Linked DNA regions of Homo sapiens: region 2 is linked to region 1. The links are contacts of gene promoters, found by promoter capture Hi-C in human tissues and cell types (Jung and others, 2019). All regions are on one chromosome and are shown on one strand. The core of a region is centred on a gene start or on the middle of the fragment in contact, and the rest is flanking DNA. Distances in the headings are between cores, read along the strand shown. Region 1 holds the start of FEV (FEV transcription factor, ETS family member). Region 2 holds the start of WNT10A (Wnt family member 10A).

Evidence for each region. The method cuts DNA at HindIII sites, captures the fragments that hold promoters and counts their contacts. A contact is called where the count stands out against the background at its distance.
Region 2: the fragment with the promoter of WNT10A here is called in contact with the fragment with the promoter of FEV in region 1 in 1 of the 25 tissues and cell types used here (H1 embryonic stem cells).

Annotation. Positions count from the first base shown.
Region 1 is chr2:218,983,318-218,987,646 of GRCh38, forward strand. FEV (FEV transcription factor, ETS family member) reads right to left here and starts at 1,867. Exons shown (of 3, transcript NM_017521.3): 1 at 1,707-1,867; 2 at 914-988. The coding sequence starts at 1,758. The HindIII fragment of the contact is 32,237 bases long and covers 1-4,329 here.
Region 2 is chr2:218,877,503-218,882,211 of GRCh38, forward strand. It overlaps WNT10A (Wnt family member 10A), which reads left to right and starts at 3,350. Exons shown (of 4, transcript NM_025216.3): 1 at 3,350-3,606; 2 at 4,659-4,709. The coding sequence starts at 3,494. RefSeq lists silencers at 2,776-2,835, 3,056-3,265, 3,286-3,425. The HindIII fragment of the contact is 13,021 bases long and covers 1-4,709 here.

The sequences.
Region 1 (4,329 bases), core at 617-3,116:
AAGTGGTCTGCTTACTGCCTCAAATATAGTCTTTTGAACCCCTCTTACTTTTTCAGCCACTGGCTTAGAATCCAGACGCTACCCTTCCCCATAATTTCAATCCCAATCCCTTCAAGCCAGCCCAGCAAAGAGCTTCCTGGTTTCTGGTCCCCAGAGTTAAGTTTTAGGGTCAGAAGCAAGGGAAGGTTTGGGTACAAAGGTGCACCTGGCACCAAAGGCGGAGCAACCTCAGCGGCTTGGATGACCGTTCCTGTTGGGCATAGTTTCCTTCTGGATAAAACAGTCGCCAACCTCGTTTTTGTGGTTTCTGTCTCTTGGTGAGATCTAGGGTAACGACTGAGATGGGGACTGTGGGGAGACGCTGCTTGAAGAGCCAGCCGTCAAAAGGGTAATTTAGCGACTACCCGTGGAGCGCTGGTGGTGAACCTGGGAATCAATTGCAATCGTCTGGCAGAGTTGGCCAGCAGAGATCAGCCGGCGTGAGTCAGCGCCGGAGGGTGAAGCAGGTGGCAGTAGCCAGGGTCTAGTGATTGGGAAGCCCGCTGTGTTTGGGGAGTAATTCCCCCGGTTCCATTGCCGGCTGGTGCTGCGGCCTTGAGCTCCTACTACCAGCAGGGAAAGGACGCTAAGTGTCCCAGCCCCTGCCCCAAAGCCTGGAAAACCATACACAGCAGCAAAAGGGCCTGGGGCTGGGATCCTCTCCATCTGCCTTGGCCTGCAACTCTTTTCCTGGTGCTCAGGAGATGCAGGAGCCAAAAACCAAGTGACTGTCTTCCCAAGGCCTCCGCACAACCAGGCCAGGACTCCGGGCTTCAGTGTGAACCCTGGGTCCACACTGCTCCCACCTACTGTCCGCCTGTGCCCTGACCCCAACCAACCTCGCCTCCGCCGCCCAGCGCGCCGGCCATCTCACCTTTCTGAACCGCGGGGCTCAGCGGCCCCCAGCTCGGGTTCTTCCCGTCCTTGAAGAGACCGTCTCCGACGGGATCTGCAAGCAGCAGAAGAAAAGAATCAGGAGAACCCCGGGCGGAAGTTGTGGGCTTGACAAAAGGGCCCCGGGCCAAGGCTTAAGGGGGGTGCTGTGGTCCCCAGGCGCGAGGCTGGGGGCCCGGGCCACCCGGCTCCTCCTCCCGGAGCCTGGTCCAGGCGCGCTGCGCGGAGCCCCTCCATAGAGCCCAAGTCAGGAAACGCGTCCAGGAAAAAGGAAATCCGCTTTCCGAAGGGGCCGGCTGGAGCCTTATAAAGCCGAGCGGGGAACTGCGCCAGCCGAGCTGGAGCGCGAAGAGAAGAGGAGGGTGCCTGGAGGGCCGGCCTGAAGCTCGTAGCAGGAAGGTGAGGAGCCGTGAGAGCGCAGGGGAGACGCCCGCGGACCACAGCCTTCTGGTACGGCTCGGCCACAGAGTACTCCACCACGCCAGAGACCCGTGCTTCCCCTCTCAGGCTCCTTCGGGTCCCTGAGTCCCGGCTCTTGGCCCCCAGGCTCCCAATCTGCTCATTTCAACTCCTCTAGACCCTGCACTGAAACCCAGAGCTCTCTATCTGCCTTTAGGTCTCCCCAGTGCCCTACATTACAATCGGCCCTCCATGCAACCCGAATCTCCGGACACTTCTCCTTCCCCTGGACCCCAGCACTCTCTTCCCATGCCTGAGCCTAGACTTCCCGCCCCAGGTTCCGGTGCCACCAGCCTCCGGCTGGTCCCTGGTACCTGGCAGGTACATGTTGATCAGCAGGGGCTGGGAGGCGCCGCTCTGTCTCATCGCCGCCGGGGACTGGGCGGTGGGAGATGGGGGGGACGGGGAAGGGGGGCGAGGCAGGCTTTGCGCTCGGTGGCACCGATCCCCGCCCGAAGCGACCGCGGGTGACAAGGAGGAGAAGACGGCGCCGGGTCCGGCAGGGCCTGGCGGGAGGGGGCAGCCCGGGCGTGGCGGGGGTTGCGGGGGGGTCCTGGAGAAACGCTTCCAGCTAAGGGGCCGCTTGGAACCCTCCGGCCCCCGCGCGGCCCGGGGCCGCAATTTCCGTTTTAATTAAAGCGCTGCCGCCTCGGCCCCCAGGACCCCGCCCCCGCCCCTCTTATCGTCCCATCGCAATAAAGTCTCCAACGCGCCGCGCCACAGCCAAGCGCACCCGGCAGCCCCCCGCGCCCCGCAGCCGGGGAGACGCGCGGGGGATGGGCCCGGGCCATGTGCCCTGATGGGAGCCTAGAGCGCGTGTCTTTTCCGCCTCCCTGACTCTCTGCAAACAGTGATGGGGCTGGTGTACCCGGCCCCACCTCGGACCCCAGCAGCCACAGCCCCCTCCCTAGAGCCCTTCTTCCAGTCGGCTCCCGCTCCACTCGCCGCTCACTCTCCTCCCCCTCCCTCCCTCTATCCCCACCCGGGTTCCCGTCTCCAGGCTGCGTTATCTGCATCTTCACTTTTAAATTTCCGCTTCCCTCCCTCTCGCCTGTCGCTGCGCGCCCGGCCCTGCAGCCGTTGCTCCCTTTATCTCTGCCCGCATCCCCGCTCCCTCCTCCTCTTCTCCCACTCTCTGCTCTTCCCTAGAGACCCGAACCCCTTCCCCGTCTCCTTCTTGCTTTGGCCCGTTTCCTGCCTTTCTGGGGCCCCCAAGCCTCAGGCCTGGTGCTGGGCCATCTCTCCTGGCAACTTATGATGGGTGGCCCCCTCTTCTGTCCTCCCCGCCCCCTTCTAGGTCTCTCTTTACCTCCTAGGCTTTTCTCTCCGACTCTCATCTCCCCTCCAGCCTTCTCTCTCCCTCTCATCCTTCTCCCTCCCCTCCTTTTCTCATTCATTCAGTCCCCATAAATTAGTAGTGGCTTGGACTGCTGAAGGCCTCTAAAGATGTTGAGAATCTGTCCTGGCTTTCCCTGATGGGTTCCTGAGCCCCCTGCTACTTCCCTGTACAACTATTCTGCTCCCATCCTTCCCCATCCCCTGTCCTCCCAGTCTGCCACCCACCCTCACCACTACTCCCATTCTGGCTATCCCTGAACGAGGCTGGAGAGGTGGAGGGGTTAAGACAGGGTTGTGCACTGTACAAGGCTGGAATCCACTCCAAGAAAAGGATTCCTATTTCTAACTCATGCAAAGATGTTGATGTGGTTCCCAAGTGGCCTGGAGTCTCTCTGGGTACCTATGGGGCTTCGTGGCTCTGGAGAGGCAGGCTAAGGAGGATGCTGGCTGAAGATGAGGCTCCAGCCCAGAAGCCCACCTTCTGCAGCCTTGCAGTATGGAACGGGTACTGTCAAAACTGGCATTCTCAAAGTCCTCTCTCACTGCTTGAGCCCAGGGGTGGAGGAGGCCTGGGAATGGGCAGGTCTCCTGCTAAGTGCCTGGTCCTGGGATGCCTGATTGAGGATGGCTGGAAACTCCTACTTCTGGGGTTCTACAGGGCCCATGTTCACCCTCATTTGCTGCAACTTCTGGAGTGTTCATCTTTGCTCGTGGAGGGTGCAAAGGAGCCAGGGAGAAGAGTGGGAGGCAGAGTGTGGAGGGAAAAAGAGGGATCCCAGGGCCTGGGAGGATCCTAGTGGGACAGGGATGAAGCCTTCAGGATGTGGACCTGGAATCTGGTGGGAGCAAAGACTAGAGGTTGGAATGTTCCCTGTGGACCAAACTCAGGGCTCCACAGAAGGTGAGGGCCTTGAAGTTGGGGTCAAGATCCCAATCCCTCTCCTTCTCATTCCTCTTTCTGCTTCCCCCACCCACTATGGACAGAAAACAAGGAGCAGGAGGTAAGAACAGAAAATAGCCAGGGGCAGGAGGTAAGAGCTGGGAAAGCTGGGAGGCATCAAAATTCGCCCACTTAATGCTCTCAGTGGGAGGCTAAGGTGTAAAGGAGAGGGTCCTAGTGAGGTCTACCCAAATATCCCAGCTGTGAGCTGGGCAAGGATCAACAGTATAGGCTTTATCCCTCAGTCTTACCCAGAAGTCATTTGCTGAGGGGGTGGAGCACCAGGAAATGTGTGCATGGGGGGCAGTCATCTCCACCCACCTGAGTCTTGATCTTCTCCATCCCCTCCTGCTGCAAGTACAGCTAGGGAAGCCAACAGGAGAGTCCTTGGCAGTTTCCCCTTCATCCCCTTCCTACCCTGCTGAGCGCTGGTCCCATGTGGTTCTGCAGATGGCCAGCCTGCCCAGAATGAATGGAGGACCAGAAGGTCCAGAGTCACACTTCTAGTTCCTGAAGCCATCTTGCTGATTCTTCCCAGCAACCACAGATACCCCTGTAGGGAGAGCAGCTCAGTCAAGGGCAGATTCCAGATCTCCCTTTGCTCATTGCCTGCTCCCCAAAGCAAGCAGTGGGGAAGTGGCCTGCTGGGCTCTGAAGCC
Region 2 (4,709 bases), core at 2,100-4,599, 100 kb before region 1:
TCATCCAGCTGCTCAGCCTCAGGCAGTCTGAGCCATCAAAGTCCCCTGCTGGCTGAATGGCAGGGGACATGTGGAACTGGGGAGATGGGGGAAGTGCAAAGAGGCACCCCAGATGTGTGTGTGACCACATCAGGAACAGGCGGAACACAGGCAGATGGGTGAGGAGGCCGAGTGGAAGGCCTAGGATCAGCCTGAGGCCACGGGCTCGGGGAACAATTCCCTTCCCTTTCAATGACCAAACACATTGGGAGTTTGGGGAGACTGCAGCAGCAAGCCATTCCCCCTTACCTTGCTGAGGGTTGGTGGCCTCTGAGGCCTGGACAATGGAATGAAGAGCCTCCTTATTGGTCTGTGGCTCCTTGGCGTTCTTCTTCAGCAAGACAAACTTCTCCAGCTGGGCACCAGGACTGGGCTGGGGCTGGACTGGGCTAGGCTGGGGCTGTGAGGGTCCCACCTGTTCTCACCCCCATGCTTCCCCGGCCCTTCCTCCCTGTGACCTTCTCCAGAGCTGCCACAGCTGGAACCATTCTCCAAGCTGCCTTTCATCCCCAGTGCTCCCCCGCCCCCCAGTGGCCCCTGTAATTGTGGTCTTAGGCGGCGGCTGCGGGGGCTGGGGCTGGGCTGAGGGCCAGGGCCCAGGGCAGGGCCAGGGTGGGGACTAGGGGGTGCTGATAGGGGCTTGGCCATGGTGTGGGTCATTTGGGGCTGGGACCCCAGGGGCAGACAGTCTCTGGGCCTCACCTACATACATGCCAAGGCTCTGGACCAACACAGACTCTCCCCTCCCTTCACTGAGAAGTGCTCTGACTTGGGCACTCCTAGACCCTCCTGACACCAGGGCAGAGCCACGCCTGAGTGCAAGCCTCAGTATCACTATTTGCCTCCGGAGGCTTTTTTGTTTTTTTTTAAGAAAGGGTTTTCTCGGTCTCCTTTGCACCTCTGTATTTCACAGACAGTGGAGGTGGGGAAGAAAAGAGACCCCCTCATCAGAGAGATGCCAAAGGAAACTAAATCAGCTCCTCAACCAGGTCAGCAGCGTTTCCCAAAAGGAGTCCCCACCAGAATCACTGGGGATGCTAGCTAGAAAGACAGACACCCAGGCCTTTCCCTGGAAAGGCTGATTCAACTTCATGGGGCCTGGAATCCGCATTCCCACAATGGCCCACCCCAGGGGACACTTGTGCTGCATCAAGCGTGGGAAATGCTAGTGTGAGCGCGTGATGGGGAATAAGGACATCTGTAAGCTGATTATGAGTCCCTTCCCTGTGTCACGTTCCTAATTCTTTCTGGGCCTCAGTTTCCCCAACAGCCAATAAGAATATGACTCTCCAGCTTGCTGGTGTCCTCTCTCATCCTGGGCTGGTGCCTGTCTCCTGTCTTGAGTCTGGTCCCACCCTTACCCTTACCGCTTACCCTTCCCAAATGCTAGTCCCAAGCTGTCCCCGTTTCTGCAGCATGGTAGGGAGAGTGGGGAGGGCAGGGGGCAGTTGGGGTCAAATAAGGCTCTAGCTGACGCAGTCTGCTTGCTGCCCCTGGCTGTTTTCCTGCAGTCCAGCCAGACTGCTCCCCCCCCACTGCCCCACCCCCACCCCCAGCAGCCTCAAGCCCTTAATTCCTGACAGCTGCGGTGGCTGCCGGCAGAGATGAGGGGGAAAGGAGGGGGGAGTATGCCGTCAGCCTGCTGTTGCTCAGGCCGCCCCCACCACCTGACAGTCTGGGGACAAGGAGGGCCCCACCCCCTCCTTCAGTTCCCCAGGGATGGGCAATTCCAGGAATGGGCCTTTTTTGTCTCTGAGCCCAGAGGCTCCCATAGTTTTGTTCCTAAGCCAGCAGGGGCTCTCTTCAGAGAGAGGGGCATGTTTGTGTAAAGGCTTGTGCCCATTTTACAGAGGAGGATGCCGAGGGCACAGGGCAGGAGCACGATCCACTATCAGGGCCCAGGCTAGCACCAGAAACAGACGGCAGAGCTGCCTTTCCCCTGCCCTCTGGCTCTCAGGCCCTTGCTTGGGCCCAGCACACTTGCACTATATCGAGGAGGGGCCCAGTGTTCAGTTGGGGTGGAGGGACAGGAAGATCTCAGCGAGAAGTAGACCTGAGCCAGGAGGCTGGTATTAGGGACCTCCTAGAGGACCATGTGCAGGTGGGGCCAGGGAGGGCCAGGACAAGACTGAGAGTATCTGCGGGCACAGGCAGGCAACACTCAGTGTTGGGGAGGCAGCTGCTGCGCTGGGAGTCAGGAGAGCTGCGTTCGGTTCTCGCTCTTCCGCTAATTTGCTGTGTGACCTCTTTGAGCCTCGATATTTTCTTGTGAAATAAAGGGGAGCTAAATAAACTATCTCAACGGCCACTTCTAGGGTTAAAAGTCTCTCTAACGCCTCCTCCCAGGACGTGCCACCCCGGGCGCTCCTACGCAAGCATTTTCTGGGGGCCTGACACTGCTGCCTCCCCGGGCTCACTGAGGAGACAAGGTGGTCCCCATGAGCCGCATTCCGCAAAGGGGCAGAGGAGGTCTCCGTGAGCAGGAGCAGGAGGCACCTGTTTAAGGTCACACAGCAAAGGGGAGAAGAAACCAGAGGCTGCCAAACTCCTCTGCAGGAGCCCACACCTGCCTCACACCAGGCAGGCCTGGGGGAAGTCCCTCCTCTGGCGGAGGAGGCGAAACACAGAGGCCAGCCCCTCCCCTCCAGCCCCTGCAGGTGTGTGTGTTGGGGTGGGATGGGGGCGCTCCCCAGCAGCTGCGTCTCTGCCAGGCACACACACCTCGCGGTAACACATATCCCCCACACAACCCAGCGCGCTCCACACACAGGCATCTTCCTGTGCACGCGCGCACAGACCCCAACACCTTTCCCTCTGTTGCCCTCAGCAGGGACGCTCCCACCCCCAGTCCCCAGCGGACGCAGTGGCCTCGGGACTCGTACACGCCTCCACGCCCCGCCGCGTGACGTCACGTGGGGTAGAGCCCTGAGACACTAAATGGCGGGGGGGTGGGGGGAGGAAAGGGAAGGCGGCAGAGCTCCCCGAGCCGGGACAGTCACTTACTCTACAGGCAGTGGGGCCCGACACAGACAGCGCCGCCCCCGCCAGCCAGCCTCGCACGCCCTCGGAAGCGCAGGCTCCCGGCGCTGCGCTGGAGGGTTCCCCGGCACCCCAGCCTCCCGTCCCCAGCCCGCTGCACCTCCGGGCCCCCCTTACCCTTGAGAGGCACCGGGAGTTGTCGCGGGGGGGCCTCGGGAAATTCCCCGGACCCCTGTGCCAGGAGGTGCCCGGTTCGCCCGCTCTTCACCCCCCGCCCCCCCCGAGGGCGGTGCCCGGGGGTGCTGCCCCATGGAGCGGGGAGGCGGGCGCCGTCTGCTCCGGGAGCCCTGACCCGAGTCGGAGCTGTGTGTCGCAGCCGCCCCGACCCCCCGCCGATCATGCGCCGGCGCCCCTGGCTCTCCAGTCCCACTGGGCTGTGAGCCCCCCACTCCCAGCCCGTCAGGGCCTGCGCGCCATGGGCAGCGCCCACCCTCGCCCCTGGCTGCGGCTCCGACCCCAGCCCCAGCCGCGGCCAGCGCTCTGGGTGCTCCTGTTCTTCCTACTGCTGCTGGCTGCTGCCATGCCCAGGTGAGCCCTCACCTCATGCTCCGCCCTCCTAGAGAGTTGGGACCCCGGCCTGCAGGGGCCTCTGATGCTCTTGCTGGGGTAGAGGACCCTGGAAGAAGGGAGGGACAGGGTCATAGGAAAGTGCTGGTGCCCAACCAAAGGCAGTGAGCTCCCTCATAGGAGGGGGTTGGACTGGTGACAGGATATGGGCAGTCCAGGGAGACAAGGCAGTGCCCAGGAGCATGATGGCAACTAGGAGGGGAGGTGTGTGTGGGGGGGGAGCAAGTGCCAGTCTGGAGTTCCTGCCCTGTTGGGGGAATGCACCCCCACCTCAGGAGTAAGCACAAGCTGCCTCACTCCTTCCTGCAGCTCAGCCCCAGGTAGGGGCAGGGGTTGGGAGGCTGGAAGGGGGTAGCCCAGGTGGGGTCAGTGAGAGACTGCAGCTGCAAGAGCTGTGTGTGTGTGTGTGTGTGTGTGTGTGTTTTCAATCGAGCCCAGGATCCCAGCAAACTGTGTTGGTAAACAGTAGTTTGTATGTGTGCCCATGTGTGCATGTGAGAGCTCATGGGTCAATGTATGTTAAGATGAACACATGTGTAAATGGGAGTGTCTTTGTGTGTGTGTCTGTAACTATGTCTGATGAAGTGTGCATGTGCGTAAGTGTGCTGGGGTTGGGTTTGTGTGTCCACCACAATGTGTGCAGAAGTGTGTCTATGTGAATGTGACTGAAACATATCTGTGGGAGTGGGCTTGTGGGGAACCCTGTGTGTATGGGCATCTATTCCTGGGGATGTGCATAGGAAATACTGTGGCCACAAGCATGGTGGATGTGTGTGCATTTGCACGCTTACCTGTGTGGGTGTGCAGCTAGCTGAGTGAGTTGCACTGGGCAGGATGATTGTGAGGAGGTCAAGGAGAGAGGAATGTGTAGGAGTGTACTGATGGGCCCAACCTTCAGAAGCAGAGGTTGGAAGAGGGAGTGATTATGGCCGTTGGGACAGAGTGTGTGTTGTTAGATGGGGCTCTCCTGGTCCCCCCAAAACACGTACCCACTCCACCCCATATGTCTGCAGGTCAGCACCCAATGACATTCTGGACCTCCGCCTCCCCCCGGAGCCCGTGCT